2 separate regions of the Homo sapiens genome follow, and region 1 is linked to region 2. The links are contacts of gene promoters, found by promoter capture Hi-C in human tissues and cell types (Jung and others, 2019). All regions are on one chromosome and are shown on one strand. Each heading gives the region's core, a stretch centred on a gene start or on the middle of the fragment in contact. The rest is flanking DNA. Distances are from core to core; before and after follow the strand shown.

Region 1 (5,428 bases), core at 29-2,528, 340 kb before region 2:
TAAGAAATAAAGGTTTCTTTATACATGAATGCTAGCAAAAGTATAATTAAGTGACCCCAAATAAATAAACAGTCAGTGAGTACGGTCTTAGTCATTTAAATGCTAAGGGAAGTAATTTATTATCATACAAAGATATCTACTTTCATAACCAAGATTGGGGACAATGTGTCCAGAAAATATCCATCTCTTCCCAGCTTACAAGAGCAAAGGAAAAATGAGCTTGCAACCAGATGCCACTGATTTATACTTTATGGGATTTAGCCACATTTGTATAAATTTCTACTTAAAGATAAAGGCCCTCTTAATGGAAATCAGCACACTCTACATTTCTTTGGTCTGGTATCTCTGACTAAACAAAGAAAAGCTGGCATCATAATGATTCTAGCCATCATTATGCTTCAATAATTGTGTAATTTTATGAGTTATTTTGCCTTGATGTTGCTCAATCTCTTCAACTTGTAGAATGAACATAGATTAGATGATCTCTAAGGTTACTTTCAGCCTAATATTTTATACAGGTAATAAAAGAATACTTTATATAGTAAATATGTATAATGCTTCAATTATACATACATATAAATCAATGGAGATAAGATTACATATAATTGTTGAAAAATATTCTCTTGATTGTAATTTATTTGGGTTATTAGAAACACAGAATAGAATTCAGAGATATCTGACTCAACTGTCCTTCACTAAATATAAATTTTCGTTTTCCCAGATTATTGAACAAATGGAAATGTACATCTGTCTAGCTCAAGTTGAAAATCATATTCTTTTACTATGTGTTCAAACAGTTTAACTTGTTATCATTTTGAGGGCAAATAAAACAACACTGAAGTGACATGGAGCTTAATCTTTAGAAGAAAATATTTACATATACTCTGGAGATTATGAATAAATATGACTGAGTAATCTGAATTGATACAATTCTACTGTCATGCTTTCAATGAGTGTTGAAGAGGCCTGGATAACTATACCTAAATTGATTTTAAAAAATAGTAATCATACATTGTTGCCAGAAGTGTTATTAGGAACAAAAGAGTTTTGATTTCTATTATTTTAAGAACACAATTTTTAAGAAGTTATGCAAGTCATACAGATGCTGTCATCAAGCATTCATAGAACATTTCTCCTCAGAATAAAGATTTGCTTCAAAATTGGTTGTCATTTCAAGTTAATTCAAATATAAATATACACTTCAAAAACCATATGAAAGTCAGCAAATACAAAAATGATCTTAAGACATAATGGTATGAAGTCAAGACAAATATCACAATTTTAAGAAGTAAATTCTAAAGGAAAAAAACTTGAAATGTTTTTTAAGCATCAGGTTTCTCCATATAAGGGAAAGATTGCTTCAATTTCTCTTAAGTATTGAATTAGAGCCTATGACTTTTACCCAATAAAAATGGAACAATAGGTTTTAGATCGGCAGTCAGTTACATGTGGCAGTGAGTGTCAGCCTGTAAATAGCTTCACAATTCTGTGTATCACTGCTTTTGTTAATTCTTCTATTTGGCTCTATTCATTCTATTGTCCTCCTTTCGAATGACTGTCTCTGGAATCACCCACTCAAAAACTCCATCATTATCTAAAGCACATTTGTCTACATGAGAGAGTGTTTATTAGGTTTGCCACTAGATTGCCAACACAGTTGGTGTGAAAGACTGCCAGGCAATTAACTTTCATTCATTAATTTCCAAAAATATTACCTACATTATAAGAAGGTCTTTTACCTCCTTAATTAAATCAATGGTCAAATTATATTTATTGTCCTCAGGAAGCTCATTAAATAAAGTAATAAAAATTAGAAAACCATCTTTGGAACAAAATGTCATATATATCATTTACTTCTCAGGTAAATGCACTCTGCCTAACTAAAATGATCTTAAGGATCATACTCTTTGTCTGTTAAATTTATAAATTTTGGGGTAAATTTTGCTTCAGTAGACTGGCATATATCAACAAGCCTTTAACAAATAAATTAATATTGCTTACCCAGGCATCAACATTATTTAAGATGAATTTCACAGAACCTCACCATTGTGCATACTCTATTAAACAGAATGGATTAAAACAAAGAATACAGTAAAAACTCTTTAAGTGAAAATGGGTATCACCCAATTCCTTGCACAGAATTAATTGATGAAAGTTGTTCATTGGTATTTTTGTTGCGTGTGTGTGTTGTTTGTTGAGGGATTTATTTTATTTTACTTTAATTTTAATTTTTTTGGTTGTGTCAGAGAAGCCAAATTTTTCTCTACTGCTTCTAAATAAAACTATTTCAAAGCTGCAAACTCTTATTTTATAGCAGATACTTCATTGGAATCTTATTGCTTTCAGTTGTCAAAGGTCATTTCAACTTAATTGGATATTTAAATCCTAAGACTCTCCTGTGAGCATCCACTAGAAGATTTATCTTTTCTTTGAACCCCTAATCATGCTTTCTATGATTCTAAAGGCAGTTAGAAAGAATATGTACATATTCCAGGTACATGTTTTGTCTCCTCTTTAAGAGAGTAAGTATCTTACAAGGATATTTCATCGGTTTTGCATTCTGATTGTGCTATATGTATTTAGTAGGTGCTAAGTAAGCCTCTTCTAAAGAAATGGTTAGATGAGGAAATAGCTGGTTGTAGTGATGGAGATGTATAGTAATGAGCAATAAATTTTTCTAAACTAAGTAAGATTTTTAAACAATGTATTTAAATGATCACACTACTGTTGATTCCTAAAGGGATATACCTAAGCTTGATTTTCTTGTTCATTCTTAGGGAATACATGGTGTTACTTTGGTAGTTGAATTCACTGACAGAATTGGATTCCCATAGCTAACTGGCATGTGACCTTAATCATCAGGTGTATTATCACATACAGCCCAGTTCTCACGGACATATAGGAAAGTTTTAATCTCTTCTCTAATCCCCAGTACAGAAAAGTTCATATATGTTTATACCAGGAGACTCATGCAATGACCCACCTCTGCATCACTACTGTTGAAAGTGACAATGCTTGTTCTATTTCAGAGACTGTGCTTTAGGACCATGGCTTCATCTTCCCATTTTCTATGATGACTTTATTTTGAAGAAAAATGGAGGAGAGATTATTATTTAAATGGAGTCAGAAAAATAAAGTCAATTTCTGCTAGGTGTAGAAGAAGAGAGGAAAATATAATATGACTAAGCTTTTCTACTTATGAAAGTAAAACTATTTTTGAAAGTTGGCAAAAGAATAAGAAAAAAGATCTCACAGGTTTACAAATATTTCTAATAAAGTACATTTATGAATATACTATTTATAAATGAATAGACTTAAACAAAGGCCAAACTTATTTAATAACGCATTTTTTCCTAAACACTGAAATTTTCTAAAAATAAACAAATCCTTAATACGTAACACAAATGAATTAAGATATTCATTGACAAACATACATATTTAAAGTTTGTCCCATTTGGATATTTGACTAATGGATGACTATTTAAGAAAATGTTGGCTGGGTGTGGTGGCTCATGCCTGTAATCCCAGCACTTTGGGAGACCAAAGAGGGAGGATCACCTGAAGTCAGGAGTTCAAGACCAGCCTGGCCAACATGGTGAAATCCCATCATTGGGCTCTCTTTCTTTTCTTTGCTTTCGTTTCTCTTTCTTTCCCTTCCTTTTTCTCTTTCTCTCTTGCTGTCTCTCTCCTCTCTCTTTCTCTTTCTCTCTCTCCTCTCTCTCTTTCTCTCTCTCTCTCCTCTCTCTCTCTGTCTTTCACTCTCTCTCTCTCCTTTCCTTCCTTCCTCCCTTCCCTTCCTCTCTTCCCTTCCCTTCCTCTCTCTCTCTCCCTCTCTCCTTCCTTCCCTTCCCTTCCCCTTTCTTTCTTTCTTTCTTTCTTTCTTTCTTTCTTTCTTTCTTTCTTTCTTTCTTTCTTCTTTCTTTCTTTCTTTCCTTCTTTCTTTTTCTTTCCTTCTTTCCTTCTTTCTTTCTTCCTTTCCTTCTTTCCTTCTTTCTTTCTTCCTTTCCTGTCAGGGTCTCTCTCTGTCACGTATGCTGGAGTGCAGTGACACTATTACGGCTTACTACAGCTTCGACCTCCTCGGCTCAAATGATCCTACATCCTCAGCATCCCAAGTAGCTGGGGCCACAGGCGTATGCCACCACACCAGGCTAATTTTTGTATTTTTTTAAAGATGGGGTTTCCCCACATTGCCCAGGCTGGTCTAGAACTCCTGGGCTCAAATGATCCTTCTGCCTCAGACTCCCGAAGTATTGAGATTACATGCATGAGCCACCACGCCCGGCTCTCATTATTTTCTAAGTCCACTTCTGGGATACATTCTTAGTCTTAAAGGGAAAACATTACTAACTACAACTGATTTACTCAGTTCTAGAATTTGAGACCTACATTACAATGCCTGGGCAATAATTTATTTAGTATTTCCTCTTTGACAAAGATGAGGAAGAGTCTTCTGTGAGAATACTTAAAGAAGATTATAAAGCCTTTATATGGCTGGGTGCAGGTGCCTTTATATGGCCTGTAATCCTAGCACTTTGGGAGGCCGAGGTGGGTGGATCATTTGAGGTCAGGAGTTCAAGGCCAGCCTGGCTAACATGGCGAAACCCCGCCTCTACTAAAAATACAAAAATTAGCCGGGCATGGTGGTGGGCACCTGTAGTCCCAGATACTTGGGAGGCTGAGGCAGGAGAATCACTTGAACCCGTGAGGTGGAGGTTGCAGCGAGCCGAGATCATGCCACTGCACTCCAGCCTGGGCAACAGAATGAGATTCTGTCAAAAACAAAAAAACAAAAAAATAAAAAAACAAAGCCTTTATATTATAAGGCTCAACTCTAGGACCTAGTATGTTGCTAGATGTTTACTAAGGTGAATGCCATTTGGAGTTTTAAAAAATCTACTACTGCTCAAAACCATTATGGTACACAACTAGATTTTTTAAAAACCTATTACTACCAAAGCTTTTGTAGATGCCAAAATGCACAGCTACTATACTACTGCCTAAGGGAGTAGAAATTCGTTTTTCAAAAATTTTAACTCATCATGGCAATTAAAATACACTAACATTTTCTGAAAATCAATATTTTTAACAGAAAATGCTCTAAAAAACTGAAAATATAGTTTATTTTTAAACAAATCTAACATGTTTTTCTGTGCAGGAGGAGGTTATATAAATACAACATTTCACTTGAAGATGGATGACATAAATAAAAAAATATCAGTTAAGGAGAAAAGGAGCAAAGGCATTTGTGAAGCTAAAACTAGTGAGCTTCAATGTCAAATCCTTATTTGCTACGATGAAATATAAATGCTTTGTTATTCATAAGTTGCTAAAACCTCCTAGGAGCAAAACCCTTAGAGGTAATGCTATAAAAAAGAAGAAGAAAGCAAGCCAATATAAGATCATTACAGCAGTTAGTAAATAACAT
Region 2 (5,371 bases), core at 983-3,482:
GGCTGCCCGCGGTCGCGGGCCATGACCGTGAAGCGCAGCTGGTTCACCTCCTCGCGGTCGATCCGGTGCAGGACGCTGAGCCAGCCGGACGTCTCGTCAAGGCGCAGCAGCCGCCTCACCGACTCGGTGGCCGCCCCGAACACGTATTCGATCTGCCCGTTGACCCCCACGTCCAAGTCGGCTGCGCGCAGTTGCAGGATGGGGGTCCCCGGGGCGCTGTTCTCAGCCAAGTCGGCCTCGTACACGCTCTTCTCGAAGCGGGGGCTGTTGTCGTTCACGTCGGTGATGAGGACCCGTAGGATGGCCTGCGAGGAGCGAGGCGGGTCGCCGCCGTCGCGCACTCGCAGGGTCAGCTCGTAGGAGTCGCGCTGCTCGCGGTCCAGCGCCCCCTTCACGATCAGCTGCGGCTGCTTCTCGCCGTCCGGGGTGTCCGCCACCTGCAGCTCGAACACGCTGCTGCGGCCGCCGGGGTTGGTGCCGCCGCCGCCCTCTGATGCGTCCAGCCGCCGCTTGGAGCCTCCCGAGCCGCCGCCGCTCGCGCCGTTCCCGCCGCCCCCGGGGTAGGGGGCGCTGTCGGCCGCCCCGGCGCGCCGGCTCTCGCCGCCGCTGCCGCCGCCTCCGGGCTCCTGGAGCAGCTCGTAGCGCTCGATGCCGTTGCGGCCGAAGTCGCGGTCGGTGGCTGTGGGCAGCAGGTAAAGTGTGCCCACCGGCCGATTCTCCTCCACCGTGAGCGTGAGCACGGGCGACGGGAAGGTGGGCGTGTTGTCGTTGATGTCAAGCACGATGACCTGACCCTCAAACAGGTCCACCCAGCTCTGCGAGGGCCCGATCACCGACACCTCGAAGTCCAGGAAGCACTCGTTCTCGTCGAAGATCATCTGACACTGGGGCAGCTTCTCGCGGTCGATGCGCCGCTCGCTCGTGCTCAGCTCGCCAGTGAGGTTGTCGATCTTCAGGTACTCGGAACCGGACTCCAGGCTGAAAGTCACCTCACCCGATCCGGTCACGATGCCCAGGTCTGAAGCCACGTTGCCGATGCGGACGTCGGCGGGGCCCTCCTCGGCCAGCCGGTACCGGAGGAGCTGCTTGGCGGCCGCCAGGCTGAGCGAGAGCGGCAGGAGGAGGCAGCAGCCCAAGCACCAGCCGCGCGCCCATCCCGCGGTCCGCATCCTCAGCATCTTCTCCTGCTGCTGCTGCTACTGCTCCTTCTAACCACAGCCCCCTCGGCGCCCCCCTCCTCCGGGGCCGGCCGCCTGCCCTCCCCCGAGTCCTCTCCCCTCTCCCGGAAAGGAAGGAGCGAGAGGGAGGGGAGGGAGGGGGCAAAAGCGGCGTGGAGAGTTGGCCGGGAATGGGGGTGGGAGGGCAGCGATAGATGCTTCTTTTTTTCCTCCTGCTTCTTCCGAAAGTTATTGTTTCATAATTCATGCAATGGGTGCTAATCGCCCGCTCGCCTGCCGCCGTTCAGTCGCAGTACTCACAGTTCACGGGACACTGCGCGCCGCGGGTTCGGCGCTCCCCCAACCCAGAGTCATCCCCTCAGCGGGCGGAGAATCCCCGGCTCTAGTCCCCGCTCTGTCGGAAGGGGCCAGAACCGCTCCGGCAGACGGGCAGTGGGGCTGGGAAGAGGTGGGGAATGAGCCTGCAGCCTCCCCCGCCTGCCAGCCCGCTGGTCTTTGCTGCTACTCGAGTTGAGTCCAATTCACGTTCCAGGCACTCACTCCAAACCCAGGCTCTGCTCCGGCTCCGGCCACCCAGACAAACGTGAGTCGCTTCCTGCACCAGGCGCTGGGGCCAGCAACAAGCCAGTCTCAACTCCGACTCTGCTCATGCAGCGGGGGAGCCAGTCAACAGATCGAGAATGAAAAATCCCCCGGCACGTCGCTTCGGGCACGGTGCAGGGGAGACTACTCGCGTCACAGAGCGGTCAGTGTCAGGGTCCCCCCGGCGCGCCAAAGAGAAGCCCGAGCCATCTTCAGAGACGCCCAGAGTCAGTCCCTTCTCACCCCGGAGAGCGCGGGTTTCTCTTTTTTCTTAACAACTCTGCGCAAGGTCATTAGTCACGAAGCAGCCGCCTGAAACCGCAGCAGCCTTTCGCCCACGGGGGCGAAGGCTGAGCAGTGCGCACCGTGCGGTGCCCAAGTTTGGGTTCGCAGCCGCAGAGTCCGTGCCTTTTCTCACCTGCATTCGGCCCGCATGTCGGAGCAGTGGGATCTGCAGCGCTGTGCGCGATTCAGGGAGGAGATTGCAGCCTCTCTCTCCCCGCTCTCTCTCGATCCCTCCCCTCCCTCCCTCCCTTTCTCTCTCCTCCCTCCTCTCTCTCCTCCCTCCTCTCCTTTCCCCTTTCCCCCTCTCCCACTCGCTCTCTTGCACGCTCTCTCTCCTTCCCAATGCAGGGAACTCAAGCTGAACTTGATCCCTTTGCAGTTCAAAGGTGAGCAAACCAGGCTCGGAGCACAGGCGACGTTAGCCGGCGAAAGCGCACGGCCGGGCGTCCCCAACGGCAATTAACAAAGATGCCCAATTCTGTCTGGATTTCCGAAGAAAAGCCAAAGGCTTTCGGGCGGGGGTGGAGGGGGAGGTGGAGTCAGAGACAGCTGCCAAGTAGCTTAAAAAAAAAAATCCAGTTTGCCAAGGGGAGAAAAAGTGTCAGTCGGTTGTGGCCTCGGAAGTGCCCTGGCACGGCTGGTGAATTCCGCAGTTGTCTCGTCCCTTTTCGCGTCTGGGAGAGTCTGGTGCGGGCGCTCCCGCCGCCCCTCGGGCTGCAGCGGCTCGGAGACACTGAACCGCTAGTGGGAATCTCCCGTTCGCTACCCGCGAGCAGGAAACCCGCAAGTTGCCCAAAGTGGTGGTTGCTGCTGGGTGCTCGCTCGCTCACGGATCAGGCTTGTCCCTGACGCTGCTGCTGCAGCGGCGGCGGCAGTAGCAGCCGAGCCGCCGAAACTACACACTAGGAGAGAGCGAGGGAGGAGGGCCCGGGATAAGGAGGCGGGAGGGAGCGTCAGCCAGCCGCCGCGCTCGGGAAAGCCCAGCCTCAGCTCCAGGGGCCGCTCAAAGTGTGCCCAATCCCAGCCAGTCCTCTTTAAGCCAAAGCCCAGTCCCCCTCCCTAGCGAGTACCGCCGTCTTCTCTGGGGGACTTGTTTTCCCTCCCTCGGGCTGGTAAATTTCCTCCTCCCTTGACTAATGCCCAGTTCACGCGTGAGAGCTTTCGGAGCTGGTGTCAGGATAGGTTTCTCCTTCTCCCTCCCTCTCAGACGACGTCCTCCTCCCCCCGGAAAGTGTCTCCGGTTCGCGATTTAGGATCTTGGTTAGGACATGGTTATCGGGGTCCTGGGGAACCTACGAGCGCCCAGAAAGCCACTCTGTTCTGAAAAACCATGACGGGCTGCAGTAGTGAAGAGAGAACATCAAACTCCAGAGAGCTGGAGAAAGATCCTTTTTTGGGAGCTCAGACTTTGGATGGTTGCGGGGGGCAGGGGCGGCGGTGGGTGGAGGGTGAAGGATGTCTGTCTTTGTTTAAATGCTTGACATTCCTGTCGTCGTGCTTGCTTGCGGGGGTAGACCGTGTGTGCGCGCCTGGGGAATAAACACATGTTGGAAACCTCGATATTATTTTCTGAGCAGAAACCTGCAGCCTTTAGTAACTGGCAAAGTGTAGCGTCACCTATCTGGATAAAAGGGAAATAAACTTTAATGGCAACTTTGTGTACCAAAGTGTCCCCAGCTTTCCCATCTCTCCTTTTGACTTTGTGTCCCTTGACTGTCCCTATTTCCTGAAGCAAGGCTTCTCCAATTTTCATTCACGACCACCGCAGCCGGCCTCATCAGATCTCAGGTCTGGTTGTGTTTTTGAACTGAGCCATTTACTCATTTATTTCAGTGGCTGTAAACGAAGAGGCCCGGCTAGGATTAAGACGACTGAGACGGACTGTAGGTATTTGGGGAGAATTTTTACCATCTCGAAAGAGAGAAAGGGCCGCTGCTGGGATTTGCTTAGTCTTCAGCTCGCCTGACGTATCCATACACATTTAAGGGCCTCCCCTCAAAGAAAAATTTAAAGCCGAAAAAATAAAATCTGTCCAGTGTGGGTATTCTTTACGAGACCTGGGTGACGAGGCAGAATGATTTAAACAAGACAAACACCAATAAAGTCAACGAGCAGATGTAGCGCGCGGTTGTTTGGGCGGGCGCAGGAACAGGAATGAGGAGGGAGAGGCGGCAGAGATTTCCAAGCTCTCCCTACAGGGGATCGTAGATGCCCGTTGGATGGAAGTGTGTCTAAGTGTGTGTCAGGGAGCTGGCGAGTATTTTCCAGTCTGTGAAAGTAGCATCACCCCAGGGGTGGTGGCTCCTCCTCCGAGGCCAGGGCAGGGAACCCGGCCTTCCCGCTAACCCTCCCGCTGCTGGCACCCGAACCTCTCAGCTCTGTATCTGCAGCATCAGCGAGAAAAGCCCCGCGCGCAGGCTCAGTGCGCACCGCCGCAGTCTCGAGCCGGGGGCGGGGGTGGGCTCCGCAGCGCCTTCGCGGCCGGCTAAGTGGCAGTAAAGCCAAATCCCTCTTACATTTGGCAAGAACCCGGGTTTATCGGAACGCCTGCCTCTCTCCAAACCTCCGACCCTGGTTCCCCTTTTTCCCAGGTTGGAGGCAAATGGGAGAAGCCGTCTCCACTCCGCGGCCTTGCGCCGTGCATTCCGATGCGCGGCAATATGGTGCAGTGCACTCACTCCCCTCATCGCCTTACTAAGATTTTGCAAACTTCAGGCAGCCGCTTGGGCAGAAACGTTGTGCACTCCCTCTTCCCTCTCCAGACCATAAACTTGAATAAGCCTCTCCGCATCTTCAAAGCATTTGCTCGCGGCTCTGGCGCGCACTCTCCAGGCGCACACTTGAGCGGGGCGCGAAGGAGTGGGCGGCTTTTCCTCAGCGCGCTGCACATTTCTTCCCGGATGACTAGGGAGTTGCAGCGCGTCCTTCACAGTGGAGTGGTTTCCTCTTTGCGAGCGGGAGGAAGTCTCCAGCCCGCCCTCCTCACTCTCATTCCTACCAACTTCGCGGCGGAGCCAAGCCAGCGTGGGAAATGGGTCCGACGTGTGCTGCATGGAGAACAGCGAGGACAGACTGCGGGGGCCAAGAAGCCTGCTGGCTTTGCTCCCACCCCCATCAGTCCCAGGCTCCGACCTTTCTGCCAGAGCAGCAAAGAAGTGGCGGCGGCTTTGCCCTGCAGCGCCGTTCTGGGCAAGCAAAGGAAATGGGCGGGGTAGGGGTACGGGGGAGGTGAGAGGAGCCCTCGGGGCGCCCTTGCGGCGGCTGGAGCTCCCAGTCCTCTTCCGCCCCCTCTCTAGGGGCTGACACTCTCTCCTCTCGCCGGCGCA

The links. The method cuts DNA at HindIII sites, captures the fragments that hold promoters and counts their contacts. A contact is called where the count stands out against the background at its distance.
Region 1: a fragment that was not itself captured here is called in contact with the fragment with the promoter of PCDH7 in region 2 in 1 of the 25 tissues and cell types used here (H1 embryonic stem cells).

The regions. Positions count from the first base shown.
Region 1 is chr4:31,054,946-31,060,373 of GRCh38, reverse strand. The region is part of intron 2 of PCDH7 (protocadherin 7); the gene reads right to left. Among named protein-coding and RNA genes, the nearest start is that of LINC02497, 110 kb to the left of the region's middle. The HindIII fragment of the contact is 5,592 bases long and covers 1-4,074 here.
Region 2 is chr4:30,717,230-30,722,600 of GRCh38, reverse strand. It overlaps PCDH7 (protocadherin 7), which reads right to left and starts at 2,232. Exons shown (of 3, transcript NM_001173523.2): 1 at 1-2,232. The coding sequence starts at 1,178. LOC124900844 reads left to right here and starts at 3,480. Exons shown (of 1, transcript XM_047416545.1): 1 at 3,480-5,371. The coding sequence starts at 4,694. The coding sequence ends at 5,260. RefSeq lists an enhancer at 713-1,423. The HindIII fragment of the contact is 10,727 bases long and covers 1-5,371 here.